2 separate regions of the Homo sapiens genome follow, and region 2 is linked to region 1. The links are contacts of gene promoters, found by promoter capture Hi-C in human tissues and cell types (Jung and others, 2019). All regions are on one chromosome and are shown on one strand. The core of a region is centred on a gene start or on the middle of the fragment in contact, and the rest is flanking DNA. Distances in the headings are between cores, read along the strand shown. Region 1 holds the start of ALS2CL (ALS2 C-terminal like). Region 2 has its middle 58 kb from the start of MYL3.

Evidence for each region. The method cuts DNA at HindIII sites, captures the fragments that hold promoters and counts their contacts. A contact is called where the count stands out against the background at its distance.
Region 2: a fragment that was not itself captured here is called in contact with the fragment with the promoter of ALS2CL in region 1 in 2 of the 25 tissues and cell types used here (mesenchymal stem cells and mesendoderm cells).

The regions. Positions count from the first base shown.
Region 1 is chr3:46,690,110-46,696,995 of GRCh38, forward strand. It overlaps ALS2CL (ALS2 C-terminal like), which reads right to left and starts at 3,570. Exons shown (of 26, transcript NM_147129.5): 1 at 3,534-3,570. It also overlaps a transcript of TMIE not described here. RefSeq lists enhancers at 2,134-2,925, 4,507-5,296, 6,386-6,885 and silencers at 3,370-3,664, 3,395-3,644, 3,795-3,874. The HindIII fragment of the contact is 18,920 bases long and covers 1-6,886 here.
Region 2 is chr3:46,801,969-46,808,279 of GRCh38, forward strand. No RefSeq gene overlaps it. Among named protein-coding and RNA genes, the nearest start is that of MYL3, 58 kb to the right of the region's middle. The HindIII fragment of the contact is 4,074 bases long and covers 1,278-5,351 here.

The DNA.
Region 1 (6,886 bases), core at 2,320-4,819:
AGGGCAGCCCACCAAGCAGCACCCCAAAGGACCACAGCTTCACTGTGCCTCAGTCGGCCGTGGACAGCCATGGAGGACTTTAGAGCAAGGTAATGATGGGATCCAAAGTCACATTTGGGGAAATAAATGTATGACAGTTGTAGAGGAGATAGTGCCAGGCAGTGAGAGAGAGTTCAATGTGGATGGGAGCCTGGACCCTCCATGGTCCCCTAACCAGACAGAGGGATCACTGATCACAACCATCCACCCTGAAGGGGTGCCTGCTGGATGGGTGGGGGCCCTTGGGGTGGGCAGGTGGGCTTGAGCCTTGAGATTTCCTGCCCTGGAGTGAGGGACCTTCCAATCAGGCAGGAATCACCTGGGAATGCAGTGTCCTGCCTAAAGGGAGGGGTGAAGAGAGGCCTGGGCTCAAACCTACCCCCACAGCCAGGCTACAGGCTCTACTCCAACAAAGCCCTCCCCTACCAGACCCTGGTACCCTCACTTGGCAATGTTCATCTGCCCAAATGACCTGATCAGGTATCTGGGGCGGAGAGTTAGAGGGTCTTTTAGCCCAAGACCCGCAGACTGTCTCTCTCCTTGTCTCTGACACGCTGAGGCTTTGGAGTTAGCCAACCTGTGTGGGGCAGGGGACAAAATCAGGGCAGCCAACGATGGGCAGGTGACACAGGCAGACCCAAAAGGGTGAGTGGGAAGGGGTCTCAGCCCTCCCCTCTCCACCCTGCCCCGAGAGTGCCATGCGGGCATCCCAGGCCCCTGGCAGAGCCTACAACTCCCAGGGAATTGGCTCTGGAATGGAGTGGGGCGGGTCCCTCAGAGCTCTGGCCAAAGGCCCAGGCCAGGCATTCCTGCCCCACCTTTCCTGCTACTGCTGCTTCGAGAGGGTGAGGCTGCAGAGAGAGAGGCAGGAAGGGGAAGCCACCAGACACCCAGCTGCAGCTTCTGTGCTGCAGCTTCTTCTCCCTCTGTGGGCCCCTGAGGCAGACCCAGGCCCCCAGGACACAGGGGGCTCCAGGTCAGCTCAGGCAGACAAGGAAAGCCCAGCCAAGGGAATAGGGGTGCAGCCAGGCCCACCTAACTCTCACCCGTATCTCCCGAAACTGCTGGAATGGAAAGGCGCTTTGGGGGTGACCTTTTCACTCTCAGCTGGCAGTCAGCTGGGGTCTAAGCTAAGAGGTGAGGATATCCAAGCCTGGTTGGGAAGGTAGAAGAAAGGGTGAGGCTAGGATAGGAGATGCAGACTAGGAACCAGATCAGTGCACGTTGAAAAGATACTGCAGTAAATAACTCGCTGCTAGGAAGACTTGAACACCAACATCCCTACACTCTCCGGGGGGCCAGCACCATGACCCCAGCCGACACCATACCCTGGCAAGGAGCTCTCTGACCCTAGAGATAGCCTCTCCTCCTCAGGCTTCCTGTCCCTCGTCCCCACTGCCCAGTCTCAGCTGCTCCCCCAGGAGCAGCCCTCACCTGGCTGCTCAGCCCTGGACATGCTTCAACTTATCCACAGCCTTACTCCTCTCTGTACCTCAGCCACCCCTCTACGAAATGGGGGTTCAACCAGATCACAGCATTTTTTTCTTTTTATTTGTTTGTATTTCTTTCTATTCTTTTTTTTTTTTTTTTTTAGAGATGGGATCTCACTATGTTGACGAGGCTGGTCTCAAACTCCTAGCCTCAAGTGATCAACCCATCTTGGCCTCCCAAAGTGCTGGGATTACAGGCGTGAGCCACTGCGCCCAGCCAAAGAGGATCACAGCTTTTCAAACTACTTAAGTCTCCCCTCAAAAGGACAAACAGGTGGAAGGGGGCTTCTCTGGGTGTGGGGATCTGGTCCTTAGACTCCCCACCCCACAAAGCAGCCTATGACTCCGGGGGTGAGTCCTCCAGACTCAAGTTGGCAACTGTTAATCTGGGAGTCTTCCACATCTGTGGCCCCAAAGGGATCTATAACCCTGGGAAACTGAGTCACACCACCCAGAGGAACGGGCAGAAGTTAAGCATGGCTGGTGAGGCAGTGGGTTGGGGGAAGGCCGCAGTGGAAGCTGGGATTCTGGTTAGGTGACCCTGAGGGACCCAGCTCCCAGGCTAGGGAGTCTGGGGCTTCATCCTGGAAGTGATGAGGAGAGTGTAAGTGCAGGGGTGAGGCAGCGTGAATGTGCATGAGTGTGCACGTTTGCAGGGCAGGAGGAGGAGGTGCTGAACCTTAATATGAGGAGGATCCTGCAGGAGTACCCCCCTCCCCAACCCCTGTCCCATCCCTAACCTTCCCCCTTCCAGTCAAGGGCATAGCTTCCTCACCCTCTCCCTCCCTCCAGTTCAAAGGTTCCTTAGTGACAGGCTGTGCCTAATGTACAGATGGGGAAACTGAGGCCCAGGAACAATGGGAGGGTCCAGAGACCCTTGTGTAGAACTTGTGCAGGGCTCAGACCCAGACTTCTGGCTCCAGCCCACCAGGTTCACCTAGCTAGATGGCTCAGAGAGGGTGGGCAACTCACCTGAGGCACAGAGCAAGATCCTGACGGGCCCTGCCTCACAGCTGTCCTCAGGCAGCCCTGATGCTCACCACGGGGTGCGGTGGGGTGGGGCAGGGTGAGGACAGAACTGGCCAGTCACGGCGTGCCCAGGTGAGTCAGCGGCTGCCCCTGTGGCGCTCTAACCAGTAGCCAGACCTGGTCTCTCCTCTGCATTCCTGGCCTCTGTCCACGCTAGGTCCCTCCCGGGCAGGGTCACTGGGGCCTTCCCTGTCCTCTCCCAGGCCTGGCTCCTTAGGCCCCTGACACACCTTGTCGTGACACTCACTCACTCTGGTATTTCCTGGTCTGAACAGGCAGGGAAGTTCTGCCTGCTGTGGAGGCTTTTTCATGGGCTGCCGTGGCAGCCCCTTCGTTGTCTGGTGCCCAGTGGGGGAGAGTAGAGACACGCACTGCCCCAGGGAGGGGGCGCTGAACTGTCACACCTGATCCCTCAGTCTCATGCTCGCCTCTCCCCGCTGCACCCTTCCTCGGCCCCACCATGGCTACAAGCCTCTTGTCCTAGACAAGCACCCCTCCCTGCTGTCGCATATGTCCCAGCTTCCCTTCCTCTCCCTGCCCAGGCACACACTCAGTCGCTGGAGTTTCCCAGACCCGAGCTCCTGTTCCGGCCGCCAGGCATTTGCCATGCCGCTCCCATGCGAAAAGGCCACCTCCTGGAATCCCGGGTCGGGCCCTTCCGCCCTAACCAGCCGGCGTCACCTCCTCCTGGCAGTCTCTCCTGCTGGCTGGGGCCCCGTGGCCCTGCCACCACGGCTCAGGTCAGGCCCGGGGCGCTGCCCCGAACCCAAGCAGGCTAGCAGCCAGGCAGGGAGGACGACGCTGTGAGCGGGGTATCTTACGAGGGACTCGGACGGCCGGGGGATGACTGCCGCCGGGACCAAGGAGCTGGGCGGGGACCGCAGCAGCCGAGGAGGCGGGAGCCCCCACCTGGACGAGCTAAGCGTGGAGCGCAGACACCCGTCCGCAGACGCGCGCCCTTCGTCGCGCCCTTACCTGAGCGCTGTGGTTGCCCCGCGCCGGGACTGCCTGTGCGGCTCCTCGCTCGCACCCCCACCCTGCCCCCTGCCAGTCCCGCCCCCTGCCAGCCCCGCCCCCTTCGCCCAGCCCCGCCCCGCCCCGCCTCCGGGTGTTGCTCTGGAGTTGCGGGGGCCACGGGCGGGCCACCGAGGAGCTGGCGCGCGGTATTGATCCGTCCCGCCGCCCCAAGCCTCTCCTGAGGCCTCCCTCTGGCGTCCCCCGGGATCCGGAGGCCCCTGGGACCCGGCGCGGGGAGGAAAAGTGGGAGTCTTGACCCCTCCGCCCCCTACGCACCCACGCGCACACTCAGGCTCGCCTCTCGCGCCCCGCTTCCCCTGCAAGGCTCCGAGGCCGCCGTGCCACCACCTCGCCCCGCCAGTCAGTCGCTCTGCGAGCCTGTGGTGCAGCCCCGTGACCTCCCGGGTCTGCCCTGAGTCACAGAAGCCAGCACACGCGGAGCGCTGTGTGGGTTCGTGGAACTTGGAGCCTGTAGAGGGGTATACTGAGGCGCCCTGCGGCCCCCTGGGCTGGGTGTCCACGGCCGGCCGCCCCTCCTGTGCGACCTTGGGGAAGTCCCCTTTCCTCCCCACTCCTGAGTCTCAACAGGCCTAGTAGAGCATGAAGCCGGCCGCGTGTGCTTTGTGCGAAGGCCTGAGACCTTGGAAAGGGTGGCTGAAGACTTATCTGGGACAGACCCCCCGGGAGCGGGAGGGAACTTAGTTCAAACCTGTAACAAAGAAGCCCCCCGTCAGCAGCCTGATTCCCCCTCTGGCCACCAGGTTAGTCACCCATTGCTCTCAGTGGCACTCAGGTTCCAGTGAGGGGGAGGCTCAGGGTCCAAGGCGGCCGTGGAAGAGCAGAAAGGGTGGCCCACCAGCCCCCTACTCAGCCCCCTACTGAGGAGGTGGGAGGCATCCCCCAACCTGCCAGGCTGAAGAGACCCCCAGTGGAGGTAAGTAGGGGCCTGGGGCCTGCCAAGCTCATCCCCTGGCTCCCTTGGGTTGTTGCGAGGTGGGAGTTTACTGTCTGCCAAGCTGCACATCACCCCTTGGAGGGTTTCCAGCCTGGGACCCTTGTCTGAGTGACTGCAGGTCCCAGTGACCTCACCCTTTTGCCCCACATTGCTCTCCTCCTGGGTCCCAATCCTGCAGAGCCGCCCCTTCCTGCTTCTCCATCCCTCCCCACATTGCCAAAGCCCGCCCTAGCTCTGGCCTCCCCTTTTCCAGCCTTGTTTTCTTGCCCCCTTCTGCACCCCCTGCTGCCTGAGGGGCTCCACTCCCAAAGGCCTTGCTCCTCTGGTCCCTGCCTGCTAGAGGTGTTGCTGTGTTGGTGGGTGGGGGCTACCTCAAGGAGGCTTCTGGTGAGGTGTCCCTCTGGCCCTCTGGGAAAGCCTCCCCTCCCCATGCCCTCCACCCCCAGGCTCCGGACCTTGGCCCCCACTCCCCTTCACAGCCCTGTTGGCCTGCGGGACTGTCTGCTGGGGCACTTGGCTCCCTGAGTCTACAGCACAGCCTGGCAGAGCCACCGCCCCAGCAGGTGGAATGAACTGAGGCTTCAGGTTCTAAACAGGCCTCCAAGGTCTTCCCTGTGGGGATCCTTTGTGCCTGTGGGGCAGTGGGAGGTAGCGGTACATTCTGGAAGAGCTGGTATGGGGCCTTGTGCTGCTTTCCTCTTGCTGTGTGATCACAGGCAGTGTGTGGCCTCTCTGTAACGTAGTGCCCCTGCTGGTGAAATATCTTACCTGCGCCTCCTTCTCGGGGTTATGTGGGACTCTGAGAGGAGGGGTATGGTGGGTTCAAGGGGCTCCTTCAGGGATGAGCACGGTTTAGAGGATCTATGGGTCCCCTAGAGCATGGGTGTGGGCCACCAGGCATCCCTGGGGCTTAGGAGGGAGGCAAGGGCTGGAGAGTGGCCATGGCCTCAGGAGGAGCATATGGCCTCACCACTTGTGACGAACAGGGACAGGTGGGGCAAGGCCCCGAGCAGGACAGATCTGATCTTATGCTAGGTGTCTCTGGGCCTCACTTTCATCATCTGCACGTGCAGCTGAGGGAAGGCAGTGCTGCCTGGGCTCGAGCAGGAAGGGAAGGGCTCCCACGGCTTCCTCCCTAGAGCACAGACTTCCTGTTCAGCCACATCTAGGGGAATAGAAAGGCTGACTGAGCTCTGGGCAGCAGACCAGTCCTTCCCCCATTCCCTGGGTGACCTCATGGGCATTGCAAGCCCAGTTTTCCTATCTGCTAAATGGGGCAAGACCTGCCCAGCCTCTCTTACAGCTCATTCTTGGCTTGGGGCCAGGTAAGGCCTCTGGTAGTGCCCAAAGGACAGCCTCTGCTGAGTCCACCTGCCTTCAGTCCCCTGCAGCACAGCCAAGGGCCCCTAGCCAATCCCACCACAGATGTGTATACCCACCCACACCACTCCCACACCCGCTGCACACAGATACAATTCCACAGTCAGGGAATGGGTGGGTCCCTGTGCCACATGGACCCATCTACCATTGAACCCACTGGTAAGGACTCCAAGTTGCACAACTCTAGTGGCAGCCCTGGGTATGCGTGTGCAGATCATGTGCCCATCCACAGGGACACAGACCTGCACACTACTCCAGGGAACACACACGTATGTGAATGGCACCTGTGATTCTGGAGCCATTGAGACTCATACCCAGCCACACACAAAGCTGCATGCAGAATGCACATGCACTCCCATGTGCACCAGTGCCTTAGTACACAAAGCACATGCTCAAGCACACGCAGGTCTGACACAGGCCTGGCCCAGCCCCACAGCTATTCTGAGCTGAGCCTGGGGCTGATGAGGTCAGGGACAGCCAACTCCCAGCAGGCCCCAGCTGCTGTGGCACAGGCCTAGGCTGCCCAGCTCCCACCCCCACCCTAGGCTGAGTCCCTGGATCCTAGCCTAGCTTTGTGACTGGGGGTCCTCATTTCCTACCCCCAGCTCCCCCAGAGCTAAACTTTAAGCCCTGGGATTTCAGGCTCCAGGAGAGAACATTCCACAGGGTCCTCTGGCCACTACCCCCTGCCTTGCTCACAGCTTCCAGTTCAGAGGCCCTGGAGGCTGGACTGGGTCCCTACAGGAAACTCACAGGAGCTAAAATTAGTACAGGAGGGAGAAGCAGGGATCTGCAGACCAGCATTCACAGCACCATGTATGGAGGGGACACTGTCTTCCAGGGAGCAAGGGTGGGGGACTTGGAGTCCAGAGGTCCCCAACCCCAGATATGATGGGCCCAACTGATTTTGGGGTGCAGGGGGATGTGGAGGCCTCCTAAGAAGCAGAAACAGTACTGGACACTGAGCAGTGTCCTG
Region 2 (6,311 bases), core at 2,065-4,564, 110 kb after region 1:
ACGATGGGGTTTTCTAGATATACAATCATGTCGTCTGCAAACAGGGACAATTTGACTTCCTCTTTTCCTAATTGAATACCCTTTATTTCCTTCTCCTGCCTAATTGCCCTGGCCAGAACTTCCAACACTACGTTGAATAGGAGTGGTGAAAGAGGGCATCCCTGTCTTGTGCCAGTTTTCAAAGGGAATGCTTCCAGTTTTTGCCCATTCAGTATGATTTTGGCTGTGGGTTTGTCATAGATGGCTCTTATTATTTTGAGGTATGTCCCATCAATACCTAATTTATTGAGAGTTTTTAGCATGAAGGGTTGTTGAATGAAAATGCTAACTAGAACCACAATGAGACCATTATAAACTTATTCAAATGACTACAAACGGGAAAGACTGACCATACCAACTAGTGGCAAGGATGTACAGGAAATGGAACTCTCGTACACTGCTGCGAACCTAAAATTGTACAACCACTTGGAAAAAAAGTTTGGCAGTTACTTAAAAATGTAAATATACACTTATTCTATGATCCATCCATTCCACTCCCACATATTTACCTAAGAGAAATGAGAGTAAGTGTACATGCAAAGACTTGTACACAACATGTTCATACCAAGAGGAAAAGGTATTCAAACTTCAGCACAATTTAAGACAAAAGTATAGTATTTCTTCAGTGTAGATTTATTAAATGCCTATAGAACAGGGTTTTGATTTGCTTTTTCTGTTTCTTGAAAGAGCTAATGCAGTTGTTGAAGCTTCTAACCAAGACAGAACTTAAGTAATTGGGAGACTTGGTCCCCTTGTTTTCAGGGCTGTGCCTATAACTCCCTCCCCACCTTTGGATATTGCTTAAATATGGCAAAAGGATTTCTAGTTTTTATAACTAATAGTTTTTGTTTGTTTGTTTGCTTGCTTGCTTGCTTGCGGATTTGCATAATCATTGATGCTTACTATTGCTGATTCATAATATAAAGAATGACTCCTGTCCTCCATATTTATGCATGTGCTAGAAATAGTATACATGATATAAAGAGTATGAAGTTTTCGTAAGCATTTATATTTCAAGCTCTTTATTTAAACATTGTTGAAACATGTGGCATAAACCTTGTTTCATTTATTTAATAAACTAGAGTAGTATAAAATAATTTAAAAACAGACACTTGTACACAAATGATCATAGTAGCTTAATTTGTAATAGTATAAACCTGGAAACAACCCAAATGTCCATCAATAGATGAATGGGTAAACAAATTGTGGTATATCCATACAATGAAATACTACTCGTCAATAAAAATAACATATTGATACACACTGTGATTGTGGATAAATTTCAAAATAATTGTGCTGTGTGAAAGAGGCCAGACCCCCCTGAAAAAGAATACTCTATGTTTCCCCTTTACATAAAATCCTAGGAATTACAAACTAATGAATAGTGACTGAAAGCAGATCACCAGTTGAGGACAGAGGAGCAACCAGAAGGGCTGGGAAAGAGGGATTACCAAGGCTAACAAAGAAACTTTTGAGGGAAATGTTCATTTTCATGATTACAGTAATAGCTGCAGATGTGTGTCCATATATCACAACTTATCAAATTGTACATTTTAAATAAATGCAGTTTATTGTATGTCAATCATACTTCAATAAAGCTGTTTTCTTTTTTAAAAAAAGTATGCCAAAAATTTGAAAATCTAGATTAAATATATTTCTAAAAAAAATTAAAATATCAATAATAACACAAGAAGAGATTGACAACCTGAAGACCAATAACCATGAAATAAATAAATAATAAAAGGCTCCCCCCACCCATCCCCACAAAGCTTCACACAATAGCAGTTTTAAAGATGAGTTCCACCATTTTCCTTTTACCTTTTACTTGTTTAAAAAAAAATGATACACAAAAACCATTTCATTTAAGTAATTATTTTAAGGGGGCCATACTTGTAACTGCAATTTTGGTCAAGAAATAGAGCTATGCCAGTCATGCTTGAAGCCCTTCCATGTGCCTTCCATAACACAATTGCCTTCTGTCTCTCAAATATAACCTATTAATCTGACTTTTAAGTAATTCTTTCCTTGTGTTTCTTATAATTTTATCACCCAAATGTGTTTTCCTGAACACTACACTTTTGTCTTGCTATGACTGTTTCATATTTGATATGTCTTTAGAGACACTCTTCACTTATAATTTTCCCCTATATTGCCTTACAGTTCATCTGTTGAAGAATCTGGGCTGCCTGACGTGTAGAGTCTCCCACAATCTGGACTTTGTTAATTGCCTTCATGGTGTGGTTCAACATGTTCTGTTTTCTGTATTTCCTGTAAATCAGCAGCTAGTCTCAGGTTCAATCCCTTTGTCAACATAGTAGGTGTTGCATTCTTTCACTTGGAGACACACAATGTCTGGATGGGCTCATTTTCTGATGTTATCAGCTGTTGATTATTTTTGCCTGGATCTACTAATTCACTGAAGGTTGAAAAATAGTAATCTAATGGTATCATTTCTCTTTTTGAGGTGGAAAAGTTTTATGAAGATTTTGGATTTTAACATATTTTATGAGTTTTTATGCATTGTAATTGTTATGCTTACTGTGGTAGATTAGAAAATATGGACACAATATTTTGCATATTCTCCCATCAAGAAATGAAATTTAGTTCTCCATCCTCATTTAAACTGAACTGGCCTTGTGACATGCTCTGACCAACAGAATGTGGTAGAAATTAAGTTTTACAACTTCTGAATCTAGGCATAAAGAGGCCTGGCAATTTCTGCTTTCACCCACTTGGAGCACTGTCCTGAGTCCACCTGATCTAATCTACAGGAGGATGAAAGGCCTTTGGAGGAAAAGTTAGGGCACCCCTACCTATATTCCCATATAACCACTCACCATTTGAGCAAGAGCATCTTGGGACATCCCCACCATGCTTGAAGTGTAACTACAGGAATTAGCTCAGACTAGACCAGCAGAACTGCCAACTATTCTACAAAATTATGAGGAATACAATTGAATCTCATTATTCACAGAAGTTATGTTTTATAAAGTCATCATGAGGACTGAATGCGTGAATACTGAATCATTGCTCCTAGAGGAAATGTAGGGTTAGATTCCTGTGAGCCTCTAGTCAAAATAGACTCATCAACCAGTCAACATATAACCTTGTTTTATGTATGTTCCTTTAAAGACATCTCCTTTAGCACACTCGACTGGTTGAACTCCCAGGCAACAGAACTATGCATGCCTAAGGAAAGCTTATCTAACACGCCTATTTTTCCTCCATAAGGCACATCACAGCCTTATTGCACTTAGGAGCACTAACCAGCATTTCAGCAGTACTCTTGGGGTCCTTTTATTTATTTATTTTGAGATGGAGTCTTGCTCCGTCACCCAGGCTGGAGTGTAGTGGCATGATCACAGCTCACTGTAACCTCTGCCTCCCAGGTTCAAGCAATTCTCCTGCCTCAGCCTCCTGAGTAGCTAGGATTACAGGCATGCGCCACCATGCCCAGCTAATTTTTGTATTTTTAGTAGAGACCGGGTTTCACCATGTTGGCCAGGCTGGTCTCGAACTCCTGACCTTATGATCTGCCCGCCTTGGCTTCTCAAAGTGCTGGGATTACAGGCGTGAGCCACCGCACCTGGCCCCAGGGCCCTTTTAAACAGCAAAATCACCAACAACAAGCACAAAAATGTTTTTTTAAAAGTGACAGTTAAGAGATGACAAAAAAGATACTTGTTTACAGTAAGAGAGATGAAAGCAGACAAAATAGCACATTGTACAGCCTCAGCTAGGAACTTAGGCATCAGAAAACTCAAATTTTTCCATGCCCTGGGCATGTCCAAAAATCACTCTGAGTACTGATTTGGGGGTTAAAATAAATTTCAGCAAGTAGGTGAATTTGCAAGTACGAATGCTTGAACAATGAGAATTGACCATAATACAATGTGTTGTTTTAGGCCACTGAGTTTGGGGTGATTGTTACACAGCAATAGAATCCTGAAACACACAAAGACATCTTTTGCCAGGCAGGGTAACTTAGATTGGGTTCCCTGAACATAGGCTCTGAGAGAGAATTCTGTCCAACGGTTTGTTGAGGAGTGCTCATAGGAGAAGCTGCTCACAGAAGGCAGTTGCAACTGACATCTCAGCTGATCCTACAAGAGGCCTTTCCAAGTTGTCCCAAATTGAGGGAAGAAGACTGGGCCTTTATATCTCTGCATAGCAATTATTTGCTATGGGATACCCCTGTGAAGAGACTTAATCTTGAGGGAATCAGTTCCCTGAGGCTGAGTGCCCATTTTGTGAGGGGTGCAGCTGTGAATCAGTATCTTCAGAAGCTGAGGGATGGCTGTGATTTCTCTGCAATGGGATCTAGCAGGAACACCACATGTCAGAACACAGGGTGCCTCTTCTGATTGGTTCTGAGTCCTGTTGACATGATAGCTTCCTTGCTATCTGGTATGACAAGAAATTTCAGGCTTATTTTATATATTTCCTGTTTCATACCTGTAAATTTTTCAAGCCATTTCTCCAAGAAGCCCTGGTTTCTTTTGGTGGCAAACAGTATTTCTTGTTGTTGTTGTTGTTGTTGTTGTTGTTGTTGTTGTTGTTGTTGTTTGGGGGGGGATGGAATTTTGTTCTTGTGGCCCAGGCTGGAGTGCAATGGAGCGGTCTCGGCTCACTACAACCTCTGCCTCCCAGGTTCAAGCGATTCTCATGCCTCAGCCTCCCAAGTAGCTGGAATTACAGGCACCTTCCACCACGCCTGGCTAATTTTTTTGTATTTTTAGTAGAGACGGGGTTTCACCATGTTGGCCAGGTTGGTCTCAAACTCCTGACCTCAGGTGATCCACCCACCTCAGCTTCCCAAAGTGCTGGGATTACAGGCATGAGCCACCGTGCCTAGCCGGCAAATGGTATTTCAAGACCACTAAAAATGCTTATTGCGCCCTATGTCACTTGCCCCTTATGACTAGAAACCCATAGGGAATTTTGTTGTTTGTTTTTATTTCCTTTTTGTTCAAGTCTGGCATTTTTAGTAAAACTGATTGCCTGCCAGTCAACAACTCCTCTCCCTGTGTCATCTATCTCTTTCAGGTTCTACCTAGCCACCAAGCTCCTTACCTAGGAGTCCTCCTAATGACCACCTCTATCCCCCAACTGCCATCTACATCTTATCTGTGGATGAAGGCCAGTGCCTCATTCATAAAAGATAATTCAAAATTTTTGTTGGAAAGAGTAAAATCGACTAACGTTTACTTGGCACTTGATGTTTTGTTCCCTGGGGGGCCATGCCCATCTTTTCTGGTAGCCAGAGGCTATTCCTCAGTAGCCAAGATGCTTGAATGGAATTTCTATTCTCCTATAACAAGAAACATGCTCTAATATTGGCAGACCAAAGGGCACCCCATCCAGAACCATAAACTTCCTGGAGCCTGGGACTTTCCCCACTGCAGGGGCTGTAACCCTTGCCTACCCAGTTGTGTTTTTTCCCCCCTTCACGAAGGCAACCTGGAAAGCAAAAGGAGGACAAAGCAATGAGGTGAAAGGGCAGAGAGAGAAAAAAGTAAGGCAATAGAGGATATATGAGCACCTAATTATCTATATATGAGCATCTAATTATCTATTATCACTCACTCACTCACCAAATAGTTCCTAAACTCCTGCTCTGTTCCACACCTGGAGGTGGAGGATGGAAGATAAGGAAAGATTAGACAGAGTCCCATGGCCATGAGGAACAAAATGTCAACCAGTGGAAACAGAGAAATTAACAGGCACAGAGACTGCAGAGTCCAGGGAGCCCAGAAGAAGGCACATTACATTACACAGCCCAGCAGAGTCCACAGGAGTGGTCTGTGGAAAGGGGGAATGCTTTTACTGGGGCTGAACTGATGAGGAAGAAGAAAGAAGGAAATGAGAAGCCATACTGGCATTCCCCGCAGATGGAACATGGAAAAGGGTCAGTCAGTCTGTTCTGAAAGAAAGCTGCAAGTAACAGAAATATGTGGCAAGTCTTGGGCATCCAACTTTTCTTCATGGGCATTTCTGTAGGTCATGACCTAGGACTTGCTGGGTTTAGCTGTAACCATGTAGAGTTTGAAAAGCAGAGTGTTTTCGCTCACTGAGCCCCAGCTCCCTCAGGCAGCAGGTTTTTTTTTTCTCTCTCTCTCTCTCCCCCTCCCCTCTTTCTCTCTCTCCTGCATGCACACACAAACACACACACACATACACATACAAAGAGAGAATGAGCTCTTCCTTCCCACCCTCCTCCCTGTGGGTACTCAGCTCTCTGGGCTCAAGGACCAGCCCATAGTCCATTTTGT